Linked DNA regions of Homo sapiens: region 1 is linked to region 2. The links are contacts of gene promoters, found by promoter capture Hi-C in blood cells and fetal thymus (Javierre and others, 2016). All regions are on one chromosome and are shown on one strand. Each heading gives the region's core, a stretch centred on a gene start or on the middle of the fragment in contact. The rest is flanking DNA. Distances are from core to core; before and after follow the strand shown. Region 1 overlaps DSCAML1 (DS cell adhesion molecule like 1). Region 2 holds the start of IL10RA (interleukin 10 receptor subunit alpha).

Evidence for each region. Contacts are between HindIII fragments. The CHiCAGO score rates a contact against its expected background, and 5 or more counts as called.
Region 1: a fragment that was not itself captured here is called in contact with the fragment with the promoter of IL10RA in region 2 in 1 of 17 cell types (endothelial precursors); the score reaches 5.6 in endothelial precursors.

What each region holds. Positions count from the first base shown.
Region 1 is chr11:117,425,974-117,431,111 of GRCh38, reverse strand. DSCAML1 (DS cell adhesion molecule like 1) reads left to right here. Exons shown (of 33, transcript NM_020693.4): 32 at 79-390; 33 at 2,309-3,340. The coding sequence ends at 2,784. Among named protein-coding and RNA genes, the nearest start is that of CEP164, 100 kb to the right of the region's middle. RefSeq lists enhancers at 1-347, 348-1,025, 1,026-1,704. The HindIII fragment of the contact is 1,712 bases long and covers 1,902-3,613 here.
Region 2 is chr11:117,982,934-117,987,892 of GRCh38, reverse strand. IL10RA (interleukin 10 receptor subunit alpha) reads right to left here and starts at 1,499. Exons shown (of 7, transcript NM_001558.4): 1 at 1,359-1,499. The coding sequence starts at 1,425. RefSeq lists enhancers at 322-621, 2,012-2,071 and silencers at 1,422-1,701, 1,722-1,821. The HindIII fragment of the contact is 8,039 bases long and covers 1-2,786 here.

The DNA of each region.
Region 1 (5,138 bases), core at 1,508-4,007, 560 kb after region 2:
ACGGGCAGGGGAAGTGCTCAGTCAGTCTCACTTATACCCTCCTCCCCGTAACCCACCCCTTTCCTCTTAACTCCCCAGACAAAGGAAGGAACAGCATGGTGTCCACTGAGAGTGCCTCTTCCACCTACGAGGAGCTGGCCCGGGCCTATGAGCATGCCAAGCTGGAGGAGCAGCTGCAGCACGCCAAGTTTGAGATCACCGAGTGCTTCATCTCTGACAGTTCCTCTGACCAGATGACCACAGGCACCAACGAGAACGCCGACAGCATGACATCCATGAGCACACCCTCAGAGCCTGGCATCTGCCGCTTTACCGCCTCACCACCCAAGCCCCAGGATGCGGACCGGGGCAAAAACGTGGCTGTGCCCATCCCTCACCGGGCCAACAAGAGTGAGTGCTCAGACCACCTCCCAGGCAGTGCCCCCCCGCCCCCTGGCCCCAGCCCCATGAGCCCTGGCTAGATCTAGTTCTGCCAGCACCAGGATCATGCCAGCCCAGCTTGGCTCCTTGGCAGTGCAGGGTGGTACCAACAGCAAGGACTTAGGAGCAGGCAGATCAGGGCCCACATCCTGGCTTAACCTCTTCCTATGTCTGTGGCCTTGGGCAAGTCATTTAACCTCTGTGGCCTTAAGTTTCTCATTTGTAAAATGCCAACGATAGTATCTACTTTGCATTGTCATAATGGGCATTAGAAATGATATACATCCCCAGCGTGTTGTAAGGCCTCATTCATTCGGTAGTGAGCATCCCCTTAATCTGAAGCTGTGCCAGGATGGAAACAGATCCCTTCAGGGTCAGCTGCCCAAGGGCCTCTGGTCTCAATGCTGTTTGAATTTAATCCAGACCCAAACAAACAATCCTGGCAGCTCCACCCACCATGGTCATACCTCTCAGTAGGCAGTGACCTGGCCTGGCTGGGAACCATCTGACCCCACGGGCCTGGCCGGAGCATATGCCCTTAGAGGCTGGCAGGGCAGGGCTAGGATCAGCAGGGGGAGTCTATCAGCAGATGCTGGGGTCACAGCGTGCAAAGCCCAGACTATCAAACAATGCAGTCTGGTCTGCTTAGCACTGGCCATGCTAATTGAGGCAGGGGGCGGGGCTTTCTGGGTCATGGAAAGAAGAGCCTGGAACAATGGAAAGACTGTGGAGACTGTGACCCTGAATGACACCCCCACCCCTTTTAGCTGTGCAAATTTAGGCAAATGATTTAATCTCTCTGAACCTCAGTTTCCTCACTTGTAAAGTGCAGACAGGTATTAACCAATCCTAGGGGCTGTCGTGAGGATTCAATAAGAAAATCTAAGGAAAATGCCTGGCCCAGCTCCCCGGGGGAAGAGGCCCATTTGCAGGCAGGGTGCCCATGGAGCACGGGGGGTCAGGCGGTGGAGGTCTTAGAAGCAAGTCACATGGAGGCAGTTTAAGAAATAAGGAACTAGGTTGGGTGCGGCGGCTCATGCCTGTAATCCCAGCACTTTGGGAGGCCAAGGCAGGCGGATCACCTGAGATCAGGAGTTCCAGAGCAGCCTGGCCAACATGGCAAAACCCCATCTCTACTAAAAAAATACAGAAATTAGCTGGGCATGGTGGCACGTGCCTGTAATCCCAGCTACTCGGGAAGCGGAGGTTGCAGTGAGCCGAGATCATGCCACTGCACTCCAGCCTGGATGACAGAGCGAGACTCCGTCTCAAAAAAAAAGAAATTAGGAACTTTCCACCTGGAGAAGAGGGGACCGAGGGGGAGGAGAGGGGACATGTAGCTGACTTCAAACATCTGGAAGGCTGCCATGGGAAAGAGGGGAACGCCTTACTCTGTGAGACCTCAGAGAACAGAACCAGGCTCCATGGTGGGGAGGCGACAGGGAATGATATTCCTTTCCTCCTCAGGGTAAAGAAAAGCTTTCCACCAGCCAGAGCCATTAGGACATCCTCGTCCTTAGCAGTAGTGAGCTCTCCACTACCGGAAGCTGACCAGCCTCTAGTGACCATTGAACAACAAGCATCCATGTACTGGGCAGCTGTTATCTGCACCAGCCACTGTAGCAAAGCACTTTACCTCCCTCACCTCATTCGCTCCTCACAATAATCCTGTGGGGAAGTAAGATCATCCCCACTTCACAGATAAGGAAACGAAGGCTCAGAAGGGCCAAGTACCCGACCTTTCCGCTACTCTTTATTGCCCCCCAGTGGAGGGGCCCCTATGCCAAATCAGAGAGAAGACTGGGGGCAGGGGATGGGGTGGGGGCTGAACGAGCTGCTTCCAGAGGGCTATGACTCTCTGTAACATCCTCTGCCTCTGTGATTCCAGGTGACTACTGCAACCTGCCCCTGTATGCCAAGTCAGAGGCCTTCTTTCGAAAGGCAGATGGACGTGAGCCCTGCCCCGTGGTCCCACCCCGTGAGGCCTCCATCCGGAACCTGGCTCGAACCTACCACACCCAGGCTCGCCACCTGACCCTGGACCCTGCCAGCAAGTCCTTGGGCCTTCCCCACCCAGGGGCCCCCGCTGCCGCCTCCACAGCCACCTTACCTCAGAGGACTCTGGCCATGCCAGCCCCCCCAGCCGGCACAGCCCCCCCAGCCCCCGGCCCCACCCCTGCTGAGCCACCCACCGCCCCCAGCGCTGCCCCTCCGGCCCCCAGCACCGAGCCTCCACGAGCCGGGGGCCCACACACCAAAATGGGGGGCTCCAGGGACTCGCTTCTCGAGATGAGCACATCGGGGGTAGGGAGGTCTCAGAAGCAGGGGGCCGGGGCCTACTCCAAATCCTACACCCTGGTGTAGGGCCCGCAGGAAGAGCAGCCACGCCTGGACCGCGCCGCGCCGCAGCCCCACACGCCAGCTCGGCTGTTTTTCTGCATTATTTATATTCAACTGACAGACAAAAACCAACCAACGACAAAACAAAAACCCCCAATCATGAACGCCTGTACATAGAACTCTTTTGTACAAATGAAACTATTTTCTTCTTCTCCATGAAGCCAGGGCACAAAGAATTTGACAGTACAAGTCAAATCCCCCACCCCACAAAATATGTGTGGAGATATATATACATATATAGACAGACAGGAACGCGTCCACGAGCTATATATCTATATATTTCTCTCACCCTATTTTGAGACAGAGGCACAAAGACTCAGCAATTTTTTTCCCTCCTCCTCACCTTCCCCCCAGTCTAGGTGGTTTTGACAAAGACCAAAATCCCAACTCAGAGACACTGCATGCGATTTTACTGTTCCAAGAAAACCAGGAGTTGCTTCAATTTGCAGATGCTTATGTGTTAATACCTTTTTCTATGAAAAAAGACCCAGCGCCGTGTGCAATAAAGGTTATGTTTCTATGTGGTGGCTTTTTTCCCATCTGGCGAAGGCCAGCGGGGAGGGAGGAGAGAGCCCGACCCCAGGCCGTCTGTCTCTCATAAAGAGACTTTGTGAGAAGCCTGGGCTTTGGCTCAGTGCTCTAAGACTTTTAAAGGCTTGCAATTAGCCAAGGTGCCTCCTCTTCTGTTCTCAGAGCTGTGCTGGGCCCGCAAGGGGAACTAGGTCGGTGGCTTCGTGCAAACTCCTAAACCCCTCTGACCCACAGTGTCCTTACCTGTAAACGGAGGGAAGCTTGTAGCAGATGGAATGAGGCAACCTTGGCTCACCAAGCGCTGGGGAGCCTGGGATAGGGGAGGGGTTGCCTACTGGCTTCTTTCCTCCAAGAGAGTGCAGGGTAGCCAGGGGGCCAGGACTATACAAGACCAATAGCCCACAGTTGTGAAAGAGGTGCCTATCGGGAGCGGGGAAGAAGAGATTATCTATAGCTGGGGCACCAGGCCAAGGCCTAAAGTTCTGGGCTGACTCTTAGGACCAGATGAGGCCAGAGGGAGAAGAAGAGAAGTCGTCGGAGGTGAGAGGAGTGAGAGAAGCTCATGAAGGAGAGGGAATGGAGCTCAGCCAAAGAGAACCAGGTCAGCACATCAGGTACCTCACCTGGCTTCCAAGGAGTCAGCCAAGTGGAAGAAAAGGCGTCCACACGGAGGAGCAGGCAAGGTGCCGTGGGTGTCCAGAGGCCTGGTTTCTGATGAGAGGGTCCAGAGGGCATCACAGGAGGTGACAGGTGAGATGGACCTCCAGGGACTTGAAGGTTTGGAGAGGCAGAAGCAGGTGACTGGCCCCTGGGTGAAAAGGAAGTGCACCTAAGAAGTGCACAGGGGGCTCTTGAGCACTGCAATTGAGGCTGAGCTGTGGATCAGGAACCTGGAAGGAAGGTGAGTCTGGGACCCACCGCTCCCTAGGAGCTGAGAGGAGGAACTGGGAAGGGCTGGAGAAGGAGGGAGGAGTTTGTGCATGCAGGCAGCTGATACCTATCAGCCTGGGCCCCGGTGAGGCCGCACCTGGGATGCATGACCTTTCATAGAAGCATCTTCCGAATAGCAACTCATCCCACAAATTCTCTCTGAGCACCTAGAGTGTGTGGGATGCAGAGGAGTCCCTCGCATGAATAACTAGATTCCCGGGTCGGCACGGTGAGAGGGGAGGGGCAGAGATTCCGTACGCCTCGGTATTCCTAGGCTCATGAAGAAATGCTCATCTCAGCCCCCACACCCAGGACCCAGCCAAGAGAAGCAGCTAACGGCATCAGTTGAAAACCAAAGCTCTGCATTCCAGACACCTGGTGACAGCCCAGCTTCGTTCCATCTCTGGGAGGACGGAACGCCTCCCAAGGACGCGCACGCCATCTGCAGGTCGCCTCCAGAACTGCAGGCACAACGATCAAACCTGAGCTGTCCGCATAGAAGACCCCCAACCCCACCTCCCCTGCACACCAGATATTGGGCAAACAAACACGAATCAGAGCCACCTCCAACCAGCAAGAGGGAATGAAAAACTCCTCAGAGGCTAGAGGCGCAGAAGATAGAAGCAGCCTAAGGGCTCCGAAGGGGAACGCTGTCATGAAAATACATGACGGATCCCGATACTACGTGCCAGGTGCTGCTTGTAACCTCATTGCAGACTTGGGAGAAAGGTATCACGATTACCACGTGACAGGTGAGAAGGTTAGAGGAGCTAGAAGAGATGGGAATGAGATTTAAACTCATGAGCGTCCAATTCCTTAACTACTGAGCCATACTACCTGCTGTTCCACTGTTCAAA
Region 2 (4,959 bases), core at 250-2,749:
TCTCCTGGGCTCCCCAAGCTAAGTGCTTGCCTCATTCCCTAGTTTCTGGGAGGGCTTTGCCTATAGCCAGATGTCCAACCTCTGGCTGGGCAAGGACAGATGGAATAAATCAGCTCTGGCTCTACACATGGCTGAGGACATCCCCACAAGAGCTGGCACCTGTAGCTCCGAGGAGAGATACTCAATACCAATTCCTAGCTCTACTCTCCCTTTACCCCCAGTACACACCATTCACCATGGGAAACACTGCTGAAGGCATTGTCTTCTTTGTAAGAATGCAACAAACATTTCTACTTTAAGAGTCTTGTTGATCAAGCAGACTGAAGTATGTGCAAGGCCAACGGCTGGTTGGTTCCCTTTCTCTCCTCCTTGATCCTCTAAGTTCTCTCCATTTGACAGCGACTCTGCTCCCGCTCCCTAGTGTTCTAACTTCTCTACATCTCTCTAATCATGCACCTGTTTTTTATTTATTTTTTGGGGGGGAGGACTCTGTCATCTGTCTCTTGCTTTCTTTCTTATACCGTCTTTGATCTTCACGTCAGTGCCTTGATTTCGAAACATTAGACGGAAAGTGAAAAATGCAGCGAGTCGTTGTGGTATTTGGGCTGCACATCTCCGACTCAGCTCTCGATCACGTGAATGGCTGACTGCATGTTTTACTTTGTATTTTGGTGTCATGAAGAAGCAGTTTCGGTCCTTGCTCTCTGTCTCTGCTCTTGGTCCTTCCAACTCCCGGCTCTTTCATTCTGTCTCTGGGGTTTACTTTTCTTAGTTGCAGAAACCTTGCCGGAGAACTGTCTGGGTTAGGAGCCTGAACTGGGTTAGAAGCCTGAACTGGCTGGGTTAGGAGGAGAGAGGCAGGGGGCAGTGGGAGTGAGTTGGGGGCTACAGGTGGAGCAAGGGGGATCAGATCGGGGTGATCAGTGAGGGATGAAGGTGAGATGGGAGAAGGACAGACAGAGGTTAGTTGAAGAGTCGACTAAGAGAAGGGAGAGTCAGGAGATCAAAATTATTCCCCAAGGGGACAAGAAGTCCCATCATTTGAACCTAAACAGCAAAAAACCTAGAGCTAAACTTACGGCTCATCTAGAAGTGGGTGGATGATGAGGTTTGCGGGTTGGGGGTTTGGCCTTGCGCATACTTCTCTATCCTTCCCAATCCGTCAGTTCCTGTCAATTTCAGCCTCTTCCACTTCCACAACAGGTGAGCCTGAGATCCAGGTTTGCCAGAGTAAGGGAGCACCCGGGCACCGCTCTGCCAGAGGGCCAGCCAGCCAGGGCTCTCCACTGGATGGAGAACTTTAATGGAGCGGGCGCGGAGAGGGCAGGGCAGGGAAGGGCCGCGTCCCGGAGCCTTACCATGAGCGTCTGAGCCAAGACGGAGGCTGAGGAGCGCCGCCAGCAGCACTACGAGGCACGGCAGCATCCTGGGCGCGCCGCATCGTCCGGGGCCGGAGCGGAGCCGGCCTGCGCGCCTCCAGCTACCCTTGGGCTGGGACTGACAGCTCCGCCGCCCGCTCCGCCAGCGCCCCGCAGGGCTGACGTCAGCGGGGCGAGGCCTACAGACGCCCCGCCCCCGAGGCCGCGGACGGGGAACCACTGTCCCACAGGGCTACCGCCTGGGGCAACCCGAGGCTGTCCTGGGGCGCTAGCGGGCTCCGGCCACCCCTCCCTTTCCTTCCCTCTGGGCCTCCAGTGCCTTCGGATCAAAGTGGTCCGGGTAGCCCGGCCGGCCGTGGGTACGTGTGTGTGGGTGTGTGCGCGCGCGCGTGTGTGCATGTGCTGGGAAGCAGGTGGCCAGGCACAGCCTCGGCCCTGAGTGCGGAAGGTGGGGTGAGGGCGTCCGAGCCGCTTTTGCCTGGCGTGCCGGCTTGGCGTTAAGGATGTGGCCGCGGCCGCTCCGAATGGGGAGGAGGTAGTTGCAGGCCCTTGAGGGCAAAGGCGCCAGGACGCCGGTGTGAGTCTTGGCGTTGCCCCAGGGCCTCCCCGTCTGGGGGTCTGAGGACACCGATGGATGAATACTGAGTAGTCCCCTACCTAATTGTTGGAGGGGGGTCCACAACTAAGCAGTTTATGCAGACCTGCCCCCAAAGTCCCAGGAAGCTGAGAGACCCAAGAAAGAGGCTTTTAACCAGCAGCTCAGCAGCTGAGCCTCAAACCGCGATTTTTAAAATTTTTTTATCTATTTTTTTTTTTTACAGTCTCGCTCTGTCGCCCAAGCTGGAATGCAGTGGCGTGATCTCGGATCACTGCAACCTTCGTCTCCCAGGTTCAAGCGATTCTCCTGCCTCAGCCTTCCGAGTAGCTGGCATTACAGGCATGTGCCACCACGCCTGGGCTAATTTTTGTATTTTTAGTAGAGACGGGGTTTCACCATGTTGGCCAGGCTGGTCTCGAACTCCTGACCTCAGGTGATCCACCCGCCTCAGCCTCCCAAAGTGCTGGGATTACAGGGGTGAGCCACCGCGCCCAGCCTTAAACCGTGTTTTAAACTTAGTTTCTCTTCTTTCCTTTTTTCTCTTCCTCCTCTGGGCCTCAAGATATAATTTTGAGACAAACTGCATGTATGTTACCTCTCATCTTAAAACACAGCCTCAGGACGTGCTGTGACCTCCACTCCCTTTCCTGTCCCATACTGTACTCCCATGCCTTACGCACGTTTATTTACCTACGTGCTTGTTAAGCACACGCTATGCTCTTACCTGGTCATATATTTCCTTAGATGCCTCAGGAGCTGCGTCCTGATAGGGACCAGGCACCTCCGGAATTCTCTCTCCAACAAAAGCTTACTTCAGGAGTTGAACATATACCCTGCTGAAGAGTAACTAATTTATAACCTGGCAGGATCCACGATTGCACCAGCCCCTCCACCAAATAAGACGATAATTAAAGAGGACCACTGGAGCAAGTCACACCACCTGGTACCTCCTAACCTCCCCCTTGCCTTTTCTGCATTTCAGATCCTTTCTTAAAAAACCCCTGCGTTCCCCCCATGAATTGAAGAGTGGAATTGTTTGCTGCTCTTCCCCTGCTAGCATGGCAGCTAGCAGATTTTCCTTTATTATCCATTCTTTCTACAAGCAGAGAGCAGCCAGATCCTTTTGCAGGTTACAGGCTGACACATCCAGTTTCTTCGAAAAAAACATTTAATAAGGACTTATAAACAGAAGCTACGTTTGTGTCTCCATGATTCACCCCCAGGACCAGGGCTTATAGACCACAGGGGAAGGGTGATTCAGAAAAGATGTGTAGGACAGTTGAAGTATGATAACATCAAGGTTGTTTGACCTAAGGGCCGGATTTACAGTAAGTGTTTGCACTTACACAAGGAGCAATTGATAAATTGGGAATCTCAGAGGTCTTCTGGGAGGCTCCAAAGCCAACACGGCCAAAACTGTGGATTAGCATCCAACATGGAGTTGCTTTAGCCTCCATAAGGACTTCTCCCAGTCTCTTCTGGGTTTCCCTTGCTTGCTTGAAATCTGATATTCAGACCAATTTTTGTGTTGGGTAATAGCACTACTGGAGTGCTGGGTAACACCTCAGCACATCCTCAGTCTCTCGCACCTCTGTGTCACTTGGCTCATCTGAGGCCATCTCCAGGTGAACCAAATATGTGAGGATATGAGAGACAGACTGTCCATCACTTTTTCTTGGAGGCTGACACCTGCTTCAAAGTGTGTGTGTGTGTGTGTGTGTGTGTGTGTGTGTGTGTGTGCACTTGCAGTCATATATGATTTGCAGTGGCCAGTCTGTGGATTTGGATTTCATTGTGGTGTGGAGAACGTTGTCTGTTTGCCAAGTGCATATGTGTGTTTGGGACTGTGTGTGCATCCCTCAAGCCCTGCCCTTGTTCTCAGACAAACCAAAGAAGAGGGGCTCAGGACATTTCTGGCCAGCAAGGCCCCACTCCAGGCCTGCTGCCCCACCCACCCGGCCATACCCCGCCCTGCCTGTATTGTAGTTTGTACCTTCATTTGTTCCTGAGCTCTTGTCCTGTGTTCAAGAAGAATGAGAATTCGCTGACAGTTGAAGGGTGAGGATGGGCAGAGAATAATTTTATTGAGTGATGGACCAGCTCTCAGCAGAGAGGGGATGGGGAGGGGGGTGGTTCCCCGCTCCCACAGTTGGGTGTTTTTTTTTCTCAGTGTGGCTGGATCCAGGGCTTTTTCTGGACTCAGAATAGGGAGTGCATGCCGATTGGTTTGTGAGTATGCAAAAAAGGTTAAAGTGAAAATACCACTCAAAGGTGGGTACGACAGTGTAGAAAACCAATTAGGAAAGGGTAGGTGTATGTAAAGTAGGTGAAGGGTGGGGATCAATCAGAGGAAAGCGTGCCAAATGGGAAGACAGGTTCTCAATCTGGTCTGAAGATTTAACTTGCAGCTTGGCTTTCAGGTTTTAAGTTGTCTTCAACTTGGAGGTGGGGTTTCACCAGGGACCCGCCCTATCTGCCTAGGCATTTGACTGCCTCCTGTAACTATCACCTGCTCCTGGGAGGTTTCCCTGGCAGTGCCCAATGCCCACATGGAGGGCCTTATTTACTGCAGCTTTTGAGAAAGGGCCCCTAACTTAGGTGTGTGACACCAGCACTGTGCGTGGTCTAGGAGTTAGTGAGGCATTATCCCCATGGTTTGTGGAGATATAAACCCTATTTCAATATTTTCAGAGCGGAAATCTCTCTGCCCAGTGGCCTGGACTGAAAGTGTGCCAGGTTGGCTGGGGGTGGGAGTTGGGAGATCCCATCCTGTATCTAAGAGTCTACATTGGGACTAGAAAGACCTCACTCTTGACGATAGTCAGCGAAGGCAGGGGTGCCTCAGCTACATGGATGGGGGAGAGTGATATCTGCAGGCCTACCAGGACACATCATCAGCCTGGGCCACCCTCAGGAGACAGCTCTTGTTGCCACACCCCCAGATGAGTGGAGAGGGCAAGCCCCAGGCTTTTTTAATGTGTG